Regions from separate parts of the Homo sapiens genome. Here region 2 is linked to region 1. The links are contacts of gene promoters, found by promoter capture Hi-C in human tissues and cell types (Jung and others, 2019). All regions are on one chromosome and are shown on one strand. The core of a region is centred on a gene start or on the middle of the fragment in contact, and the rest is flanking DNA. Distances in the headings are between cores, read along the strand shown.

Region 1 (5,515 bases), core at 1,628-4,127:
TCCTGAAGTCAACCAGGACATCATCCAGCAGTCATCCAGTCAACTAGGACTGTTGATTCCCCAACCTGTCCACATATCCAAATCACTCCCATCCTTCAAAATGCAGCTCAAACCATCCCTTTGATAAAGTCTTCCCTCCTCAGAACACTGCAGTATTTGCCATAGTGTCCCAACCCCACCCCCAACACAAGTAGGTCCCGTGTGAGGCCTGGGAATCTGTGTTTTTTGTTTTGTTTTGTTTTGTTTTTTTTTTGAGACAGAATCTTGCTCTGTCGCCCAGACTGGAGTGCAGTGGCGCGATCTCAGCTCACTGCAACCTCTGCCTCCCGGGTTCAAGTGATTCTCCCACCTTAGCCTCCTGGGTACTGGGATTACAGGTGCGCAGCACCACACCCGGCTAATTTTCGTATTTTCAGTAGAGACAGGGTTTCACCATGTTGGTCAGGCTGGTCTCGAACTCCTGACCTCATGATCTGCCTGCCTCAGCCTCCCAAAGTGCTGGGATTACAAACGTGAGCTACCGTGCCCAGCCTGGGAATCTGTATTTTAAACAAGCTTCCCAGGGTGATTCTGATGGTTGGTGAAGGCTGAGAACCACTGTGTGTCACCATGGTTACCGTCGTCTTAATGAATTCCTTTTGCCTCCCCAGCTAAACTTGGGCAGATCAAGAGCCAGGCCTTGTTCAATCTCCCTCCATAAGCCCAAGGTCCTGGCCCTTATTAGGTACTCAACAAACACCTGCTCAGCAATGTCCATCTTCTTTTTCACTTTTGTTTAAAACTACCTTCTGTGCTGGGCACAGTGGCTCATGCCTGTAATCCCAGCACTTTGAGAGGCCAAGGCAGAAGAATTGCTTGAGGCCAGGAGTTCAAGACCAGCCTGGCTGACATAATGAGACCCCATCTGTAAATATAAAAATAAAATAAACAGCTTTTACCAAGGAGGCACTCCTGATGGATCCTTCTCCACTTCTATATCCTGAGTTCACTCAAGGCTTAGCTGCCCACTTTGCACTCTGCTTGTTTTCCAGACTCTGGGTCTGTGCCCATCATATGTGTGCCTCCCATGCGACAAGGACCATTGTCATTCCTTCCTCTCAACTTTCTGCCTGGGTCAGGAGTGACTTCTCCAAGATAAGAACTCAAGGTTGACACAACAGCTCGATAAACCTATTTTCTCACCCTAGCCTAGGGGAAGTGGGAGAGAAAAGAAATCAGAGGCCCAACTTAGGAAGTCCTTCCCTGACTGTCTCAGTAGTCTTTAACTGATCTGTTGTCCAGGTGGCTACCCAGGACAAACTGGGCTCATACAAAAGCTGAGAAGGGTGCTGTGGAGAACGCCAGTGTTTCAGGGGACCTTGCTTTGCATCTCCCCATGCAACACCAACATTAGCAGATTGGCTGCTCCAGCTCTAGAATCTCGAGAAGTCTTGAGCCCACCTTTGACATTTAGACACCTGTGTTGGAAACAGCAAGGCTGGGGAAAAGAGTGGCAAGATACTACTTTCATTGTTCCATAACTTCAAAGCCTGATCTCATAGCAAGAGCCACAGGCTGGAAGTCAATTGATTTGAATTCTACTCCTGTTTCATCTCTAAGAAGGTTCTCTTGAGCAACTCATTTAACTCTCTTCTCTATGGAAAATCACATACTCCATCCAACCTACCACCTGTTAACTCATTTTTTTTTTCAATACTTATGAGTCTCTTACATGACAGGCACTGCAGCAGTCTCTTGATGAGGAAGAAATCCAAAAAGAGTAAAATGTAGGCCAGGCTTTCTGTAAGCTCATAATCTGCTGTGAGGGCAAATAAACAACTAACTGTAATACAGTGTGATGTGAGCTTTAATACCCGGAACAAAACACTAAGAGAACCCAAAGGAGGAACTTGTAAGTTCTACCCAAAGTCGCCCCAAGAGCCAGAGGCTTAAGAAATGTAGATATTTTATAAAATACGGTGTCATACTACATTAAGCACAAAGACAGCGGAGTTGGACCAAGCGATAAGGCTGACCACCAAGGGCCGACTTCAGACTGATGTCAGACTTCTCTGACATCAAATCCGGGAAGTGAGGAAGGAATCGAAATCACATATGCACTCCCCTGTCCTTTGGAGGCACTCCGGGAGTCCAGGGACAATAATAAATATCCTTAAACGAAATAATAATAATAATAATAATAATAATAAATAATAATAATAATAATAATAATAATAATAATAATAATAATAATGCATAGGCCGGGCGCGGTGGCTCACACCCGTAATCCGAGCACTTTGGGAGGCCGAGGCGGGCGGATCACGAGGTCAGGACTTCGAGACCAGCCTGACCAACATGGTGAAACCCAGTCTCTACTAAATACAAAAATTAGCTGGGCATGGTGGCGCGCGCCTGTAATCCCACCTACTCGGGAGGCTGAGGCAGAAGAATCGCTTGAACCCGGGAGGCGGAGGCTGCAGTGAGCTGAGATCGCGCCATTGCACTCCAGCCTGGAATTCAGAGCAAAATTCCGTCTCAGAAAAATAAATAAATAAACAATAATAATAATAAAGCATAAACTCAAAAAGACCATTTCATCTGGTTCCAAAGGGGCCGACTACTAAGGCACCATACAAAACCTCCGGGGGCGCCCGCTGGCTCCGGCCGACTGGAAAGCCTTGATCCTGCAGACCTCCCAGGCGGTTTCATAGGCTGGGCTCTCCCTGCACTGAGTCTTACCCCATACGGAGGGAGGGACCCCAAAATATAGAAATTCTAACCACCCTCTCGGCTCAGCCCCGACGACCCTGGGAGCCGTCAACTTGCCCCCACAGTCCCGGATTCCCAGCCCCCTACTTCCTCACCTGGTCCAGCTCCCCATCCCGTTTCCGGTTCCTTTCCCCCACCCCAAACCCAACCCCCGGCGCTAAGGACAGTGGGAGTCGTAGTCTACATTGTTTAGGGAAGGAGATTGGCGTACCCGCAGCCACTTCCGCCGGAAATGCTCCAATCCCGGAAGGCGCACTAAATTAGCCCTAAAGATCGCTGGGAATTGTAGTTTAATCTTTCCATCAGCGTTAAATCAGGAAGTCTTGAGAAGTGAAAAGCCACAGCCTGTAAGTACCTAGGAAATCCTGGGTTCTATCCCTAAAGGGCATCGCCCTTCCAAAAGTTCATTCACTATTTTCCCAAAGGGATTGCAAATCAGGAAGCTTCAACCATCCCCAATCCCTCACCCACCTGAAGGTATTAACAATAGCTAAAGACCATTGCTAGGCCCCCTGCCACCGTGGGTATAAGAGACTTCTCCTTTGCAGCCTGCCATTACTTATACAGAACATCCACGAAGACATTTCTGGTAGCTCCTAACAACTTTTTAGCAAGGGGCATCCCCCATTACTGTCCAAGCCCATCTCCAGAGTGTCACCATTTTGACTTCTTTCTCTGCCTTGCTATCTGCCCAACCCTATAACCTCAGTATTAGTCAAGAGTTTTCCAGAGAACAGAACTAACAGGATATCTATCTATATGACGAGATTTATTCCAAGAATTGGCTCACAGGATTGTGGAGGCCAAGAAGTCCCACAGTCTCCCGCTCTGCTGTCTATACACTGGAGAACCAGGAAAACAGGTGGTATAATTCAGGAAAGTCCAAAGCAGGGGAGGAGGCTCACTGCTAAGTCCCAGAGCCTGAAGGACGAAGAACCAGGAACTCCAATGATGTCCAAAGGCAGGTAAAATAGATGTCCCAGCTCATGAAGAAAGAGAATTTGCCTTCCTCCACTCTTTTGTTCTACTGGCCCCCAAGGGATTGGATGGTTCCCACCCATATTAATGAGGGTGATCTTCTTAGTCTACCAATTCAAATGCAAATCTCTTCCAGAAACACTCCACAGACATATCCAGAAATAATGTTTTACCAGCTATCTGGGTGTCCCTTAGACCACTCAAGTAGACACATAAAGTTAGCTATCACTCTTCCATCCAAATCTTCTCCCTCAAATACTTTGTCCAGGAAGGCTTCCCTGATCAATCCTCATCCCATGGCTGCACCTAACAGTCCATTCCCCCACCATTCCCCCATCCCAATATCTATGTCCAAATCTGTCCTATTCCTAGTTTTGTTCTTGTGCTCTATCTGGGTCTGGTTCTGTGTCGTGACTCTAAAACTTTCATTAGACTGGGAACCCCCTAAGGTTAGTTATCTTCTATATTCCTCCCACCCCACAATCTCCACACACCTTAGCACAGCCAAGGCTCTAATCACAGAAGCAAGGTCTCCCTGTGAGTGGTAGAAAAGGAGACCTATAAACCCCAGAACAGGAAGAAGTGAGAGAAAAAGGATGCTATTCCCTTCCCAGGACTTGTCTGATCTCCTATCAACAAAAACTTAATGGGTGCAGTAGGAGCTTCAGGGAGCTGTGAGCAGTGACCTGCTGACATCAAGGGTGAGAAACTACCCTGACCCTTGCAAGACTTTGGAAATGGAATTAATCATCCACCTCATGAAGCCCATAATTTCCTGAGCTTTAATTTTTACCAGATCCTCTCCCTCTCTGTGTCTCTCTCTGCCTATGTTATTTGCCCCTCTCTACTTATGTAAATTTATCTCTATTTCTAGTCTCTTGTGTAGCTTTCTCTCTGTATCTGCAGGTCTCTGTCTCCCTCTGTGAACATCTCCCTGTTTCTGCTTCTTACCCTAGAATGACTGGAATAAGAGAATCTGAGCTTCTAGAACAAGTTCCCCCATCTCTGTGTGTCTATGTATTTCTGTGTTTCTGACCAAAAATAAGGTGAAGGGACCTCATTGTGGTGTCATCTCATTGCTTAAAAATTCCAGGATTTCCACCATCCCTTGGACAACCCTCCTGTCCACCCCGACCCCTCTGTCACTTGCTTGCCCAGCACTTCTGTTCTAGTTTGTCATCTTGGCAGCCCCTCCACATTCAAAGTCTGCTTCTGGCAGAACAATAATGAGTGAAATGAGTAACAGGCAAGCAGAGATCCCCCAGGACCTCCACCTCCCCACCCCTGATTTCAATTTCCTAGAAGACTTGAATAACTGTTTCTGTCCCTATAAGCCCATCCACCCCAGGGAACCCAGAGATAGGAAGTCCAGATATAAGGAGAAACTGAGGCTTAGGCAGCCCACAGTGAGTCCCTACAGCCAATGTCAGAGGGGCCTGGGGCCTTCTCTCTCTCTAGTCCATGCTATTCCTCCCCGCCCAGTGAGTCACTCCCAGGAAAGATGGAGGTGAGGCGCTCTCCTGAAGTAGGCGTGCTTAGAAACAGGGACCCTGAGGCTTTCAAGAGATAGAGCCCAAGAGATGAAACATGGGCTTGGGTGCAGCCCTTCCAACCAGTCTCTTCCATTTATTAGTCTTCATGTCTTCTGGGAAGTCTTCAGGAGGCTGCTGACTGTGATTTACGGGTAGAGCCTTGTGGGGCAGGAACAGAAGATGACCCAGGTTATCGCCTGGGTAAGAGCCTAGAGAGTTGAGTCACCGGTCCTGGGGCAGGGCTCCAGGCATACCCA
Region 2 (5,515 bases), core at 963-3,462, 82 kb before region 1:
CTATAATCCCAGCATTTTAGGAGGCCAAGGCTGCAGGGGAATCGCCTGAGTCCAGGAGTTCAAGACCAGCTGGAGCAATATGGCAAAACCCCATCTCTACAAAAAAAGCAAAAAAATTAGCTGGGTGTGGTGGCACATGCCTGTAGTCCCAGCTACTCAGGAGGCTGAGGCAGAGGATCATTTGAACCCAGGAAGTGGAGGTTGCAGTGAGCCAAGATCGTGCCGCTGCACTCCAACCTGGGTGACAGAGTAAGATCCTGTCTCAAAATAAAAATAAAGAATAAAACCAGTGTTTCCACATCTGGAACTTTCTTTTCAAGTTTATATCACCTCTCCTTCCAAATCAGGTCTCCCCTCCTCCAGGAAGTACTCCTTGATTAAGCCAAAAATGTTTTAATTTTCACCACTTGTCCTACTACTCTGCATCCCCACAGCACTTGTAGTTTGTACTTATTCCCTATCCTGTTTAAGTGTGTGTTCATCATCCTAACCATACTGCATAAGCAGGCACTATTTTAAGTAGGCTTGACAGATTATCAGAAATTGACAAGAAAAAATACACACGAAGAAGAAAGTAGAAGAGGATTTTTTCTTTTCTTTTCTTTTTGCTTTATCATAGAATTTCTTGTCTTGGTGCTTACAAGCTGTGTAGCACAATGAGAGGAGAATGTGATTTCTGCAAAACACTTCAGGAAGCACAAAGTATCTGTAAATACCCAGGAATAATGACCATGTCTTTTATTTGTATTATTTTTCTAATTCCTCCACTCTATAGGGCTTGCCCAAAGTCCTTGATTTTAGCCCTTGAGTGTTGGTTGGCTGACTTAGCTTTGGATTGTGGTCCCCTGAGATCGCTGGATCTTTTTAAGCTTTAGAGTTATGCCCTACCATGTGGATGCAAGTGGAGGAAGGACTTCTCAGTGTGACCCATGAGAGGAGTGGCTCTCCTGGGCCCCAGGCCCCAGGCTGCATGCGTATGGGAGGGAGGAGGAGAAGCAAGGAAAGGAGGAGAGACAGAAGTATATACTGAGCTGGTAGTTGGGGGAAGGGTTGGCGGGTGGGGAGAAGGGAAGAGAGGAGTCTGGGCCAAGGCCAGAGGTGTCTCCCTGGGGAGTCCTCGGAGCGGGCAGCCGGACGTCGCTCCATCCTTCCCGCCTGACGGATGCGTCTGCTGCGCAGGCACAAGCTGTCGGGCCAGGCCCTGCCAAGGCAGAACAGTGGCGCTTCTGTGCGCGCTGCTCCGCTCCGCTCCGGAGGATGGGGCCCGCCCGGGAAGCCAGGGAGTGATGGAGAAAGCAGACGTCCCAGAACAGGAGCCGTGGGGTCACAGAAGCACGCCTGCCTCCCGAAACAAGGGGCCACAGGACGAGGTGGGAGGGGACCGGGAATCAACGCGGGGGAGCGTTTGGGGGAATTGTTGGTCGAAAGAAGAGAGGCAGAAGGACGCGCGCTGAAGGAGCCTGGGGATGAAGAGCTCGATGATTTGGCCACAAGCCCCCTCACCTTTAAGAACAAAGCTTTCTGCATTCAGTTGCAGAGTTTTGTTTCCCGGTCAGATGCTCAGAGACCTTCCACCCTGTCCCCCACCCCTCAGCCTTGCCCATCTCCACGAGCATCTTCCGCGCCCTCGCCCGGGACTCGGAGCCCACCACCCTCCGCCTCCGCCTGGCCTGGCCCGCGAGATCCCTGCCGCTCCAGTTCGGAATCTGGGATCCGCAGGCTCCCAGATCCGCCCCTGGCCCGGCTCCGACCCGCCCGTCAGCCGCCTCCCACTCAGCGTTAATTAAAACTTGCGAGATGGAGAGGCTGGCGCGGACGGCTCCGTTTTATTTGCAGCATCTTTCATGCTGCTGACGATCGTAAAGGGCTTTAATATTGAAATATGGGCCATTTTCCCAGCTCCAGCCCTCGCCGCGCTCTCTCCGCACCCCCACACCCAGCCACCCCGCGCTTGATGAAAGAGCCCCTGCAAATCCATTAAGGAGAGATAATTGAAAACTCCGGGGTAATATTTAAGACCGCGTGCCGACGCGGGGTGGAGGGCCTAACTGCGCCCGCTTTGTCCGTCAGTGCTGGTGCGTGCCAGTCCCTAGCGCTCTAGGCCCACCAAGGCCCCGCCGACGCCCAGCCAAGGCCCGCCGTCTTAGCGGTGCCTCCTCACTCCCTGCACTCAAAGGGCTGGCTCTGCGCTAACCTGGCTGTGCCTGGAGACCCGACTTGCCTGGAGACCCGAGTTCCAAAAGGAGCCACAGGGCACGCTGTGTGACAGATGGATTAGGGCCAGCATGAACGGGGGCCAAAGCATCTTGTCCCACTGCTTCAGCTTCGGTTTGGTGCACCAGCATCAGGCACTGCTCAAGCTTCTGAGCACGGCATCCCCTCTGCCTGCAAGCTTTTCCCTCCAGCACTTTCTACTTGCGGAACTGCTGTTCCTCTTTCAAAACCAACCCAGTTCCACCCCAAGTAAGTGCAGTGGGGTATGGAACGTGGGTGGGAGTATAGACACACCAAGATCCTGGTGTGACCATTGTTGCAGCTGCATGATGAGGACACTATACTGCTCTGTTTTCGTATGTTTTCAATGTTCCACAACAAACATGTTTAGAAAGCAGCTGAGGCATCTTCTTTTACGCCTCCCTCTCCCATAAATACAGACTACCTGTTATCTTGTACATTGATGTTCCTTAGCACATCGTGTTGCCATTATCTGTTTAAAGTCTTTCTGCCTACTCAGCTGTGACATCTTCAGAACAGGGATCAGGTCTAATTTCACTCCTTAGCCCTTGCTCCAGGCCCAGTGCAAGGCACATAACATGCGCTCAGTAAACATCACTGAATAGGCTGTTCTCTGGGTACCTAGAAGTCTCTAGGGCTTAAGGTTAGGATACAAGCACACGGAAGGAGGGTAGGGCAAAGCATGGAAGAGGGGTGGGGTCTGTGAGGCTGGGTTGGGGGTCATGTCTGTCTCCCACAATGACTGGCTTCAGGATGTTCCCAGAATGGGAAAAGGGTGGAGGACCATGTTCTGCACTGTGATTTAGGAATCCTTAGGTCTCTACCTGGGACTTTTGGGGATGTTTCTCCACTTCACTCCATTTGGCTTACTCTCCCAATCAGGTTAGACACACACACACACACACACACACACACACACACACCACCACACACCTTAGACAGGGAAAGAGTGGGAAAGAGGGAAGCAGAAGAGATTATTTGAAGACCTACTTGTGCAAAAGGCATGAGTAGTTCAGGCATTTCCATGGATACCCAGCTAACCTCCTACTACAGGGCCTTTCCTACTTACCCCTGTTGCCCAGTCTTCCCCAACACTGTGTCCAACACCCATACAGGGGTTGTACTCACAGGATGGCACTATCGAGGAAGAGGGGGCTGTTCTGACTCAGCCCCCCTAACCGCACATTGGCCCTGAAGCCACAGTTGCAATGATGCCCTCTCTATGGCCAGAATGAGATCCAAACCATTCCAAAGTTCCATTTCCAAACAAGGACTCCTCGTTAGAACCACAAAACATCAGAGCTGGAGGCAACCAAAAGAGCACTGTGTCCCCTCTTAGTATCTGTGGGGCAACTAAGACTTAGAAAGGGTCTGTGATGTGCCCCAGGTCACAAAGCCATTGGTAACTGGGCGGGCGGGGTGGCTCACGCTTGAAATCCTAGCACTTTGGGAGGCCAAGATGGGTGGATCATTTGAGGTCAGGAGTTCGAGACCAGCCTGGCCAACATGGCGAAACCCTGTCTCTACTAAAAATATAAAAATTAGCGGGCAGTAGTGGAGCATGCCTGTAATCCCAGCTACTCAGGAGGCTGAGGCAGGGGAATTGCTTGAGCCTGGGAGGCAGAGGTTGCAGCGAGCTGAGATCACACCACTGCACTCCAGTCTGGGCGACAGAGTGCGACCCTGTCTCAGGAAAAAAAAAAAAAAAAAAAAAAAGCCATTGCTAACAAAACCAGTGCTAGAATCCCAGCAAGTTAGTGGTGGAGCTGGAATTAGAATCCCAATCTCTTGACCCACTTAAATATATACAATTGGTATTCGAAATGCTTTTCACAAACATTATCTCATTTAATTCTCTCTCTCTCGATAGGATCTCACTCTGTCACCCAGGCTGGAGTGCAGTGACATGATCATGGCCCACTGCAGTCTCAAGCTCCTGGGCTCAAGCAATGCTCCCACATCAGCCTCAGGCACATGCCACCACACCTGGCTAATTTTTGTATTTTTGTAGAGACAGGGTTTCGGCATGTTGCCCAGGCTGGTCTTGAACTCCTGGGCTCAAGAAATCCTCCTACCTTGGCCTCCCAGAGTGCTGAGATTACAGGCATGAGCCACCGTACCTGGCCTCATTTAATTCTCACAAACCTATGAGATAGCGTCACAATTCCCATCTACAGATGAGAAAAATGAGGCTCAGGGAGAGCCATGATTTGTCCAGTGTCATACACGGGTGGAAAACAGATCCAGGATTTGAACCCCAGTTTGACTGGCTCCAATTCCAGTGCCCTTTCCACTCACTTCTCCAGTATCTCCCCCTACACCCCACCCAGCCAAGTCAGGCCAGTTTCCCAGACACTCACCCTTCATCCCTGGACATCTCCAGCCAGAGGTCTTTTTTCTCCTTAGCCCAGCTTCCCCCACCCAGGGCAATGTTCTTTGCCCCAGATTTGGAGGTGGCGGTGTGGTAGTCCCCGCCGTGGTTCTGGGTACAGGCCTCCATGAACTGAAGCCATGCACAGCCTGGCCTCCTGTGCGCAGCCCTACTCCTGTTCGTGGCCACGGAGGCCTCAGCCATAAATCCCCAGGTCTCAGCTCATAACCATTAGCAAGCGATTGGGCTCATCAGGACGCCTTTATGAGACTCAGGTCAAATAAATGGATTGCCGGAGGTCAGGAACAAGGGATCTCCTTGGCTTGCCTTGCCTTGCTTCCGAGATGCTCCCACCACGCAGAGGTTGGCAGATTCTGTTTGACTCACAGCTGTAGGTGGAAGTGGGGGCATTGTCACAGTGGGATAAAGATGTACAGTATCCCCTGGTACTCCACACCCATAGAAGGAAAAGCGCTTGGAGATGCACATCCTCAGATAGCCCACAGTCATTAGGGCTGGAGGAACGCACACACAGAGGCACATATACACACTCAGACCCCCATCTCTGATTCAAATCCACTCTTCAGCAACCAACCCCCCAACCCCACCCATCTCATATCCTCTGATGTCCTCACACTCCATTCCTCCTGTGAGGTATTTCCTGAAACACTGCTTCTCAAACACCACTGCGCATACAGATGACCTGGGACCTGGTTAAAATACAGATTCTGACTCAGTAGATCTGGGGTGGCACCCGAGCTCTGTTTTCTAACCAGCTTCCAGGTAAGGCCAGGGCTGCTTCTCCAGAGATTTTAAGCAATGGTCCTCCCACATTGGAAGGGTAGGGTCTTTCAAAATGTAAAAGAGATAGGAGTGTGCAGTTTGGGAAAGCTCCTCTCCCACTCCTAT

Evidence for each region. Contacts are between HindIII fragments. The study calls those that stand out against the background at their distance.
Region 2: a contact is called between a fragment that was not itself captured here and the fragment with the promoter of SMUG1 in region 1, in 2 of the 25 tissues and cell types used here (mesendoderm cells and thymus).

What each region holds. Positions count from the first base shown.
Region 1 is chr12:54,186,108-54,191,622 of GRCh38, forward strand. It overlaps SMUG1 (single-strand-selective monofunctional uracil-DNA glycosylase 1), which reads right to left and starts at 2,878. Exons shown (of 4, transcript NM_001243787.2): 1 at 2,844-2,878; 2 at 1,712-1,795. It overlaps LOC105369777 (a long non-coding RNA gene), which reads left to right and starts at 2,990. Exons shown (of 3, transcript XR_944984.2): 1 at 2,990-3,095; 2 at 4,341-4,427. The HindIII fragment of the contact is 7,082 bases long and covers 203-5,515 here.
Region 2 is chr12:54,105,226-54,110,740 of GRCh38, forward strand. All of the region lies in intron 1 of FLJ12825 (a long non-coding RNA gene), which reads left to right. Among named protein-coding and RNA genes, the nearest start is that of LINC02381, 18 kb to the right of the region's middle. The HindIII fragment of the contact is 5,117 bases long and covers 1-4,771 here.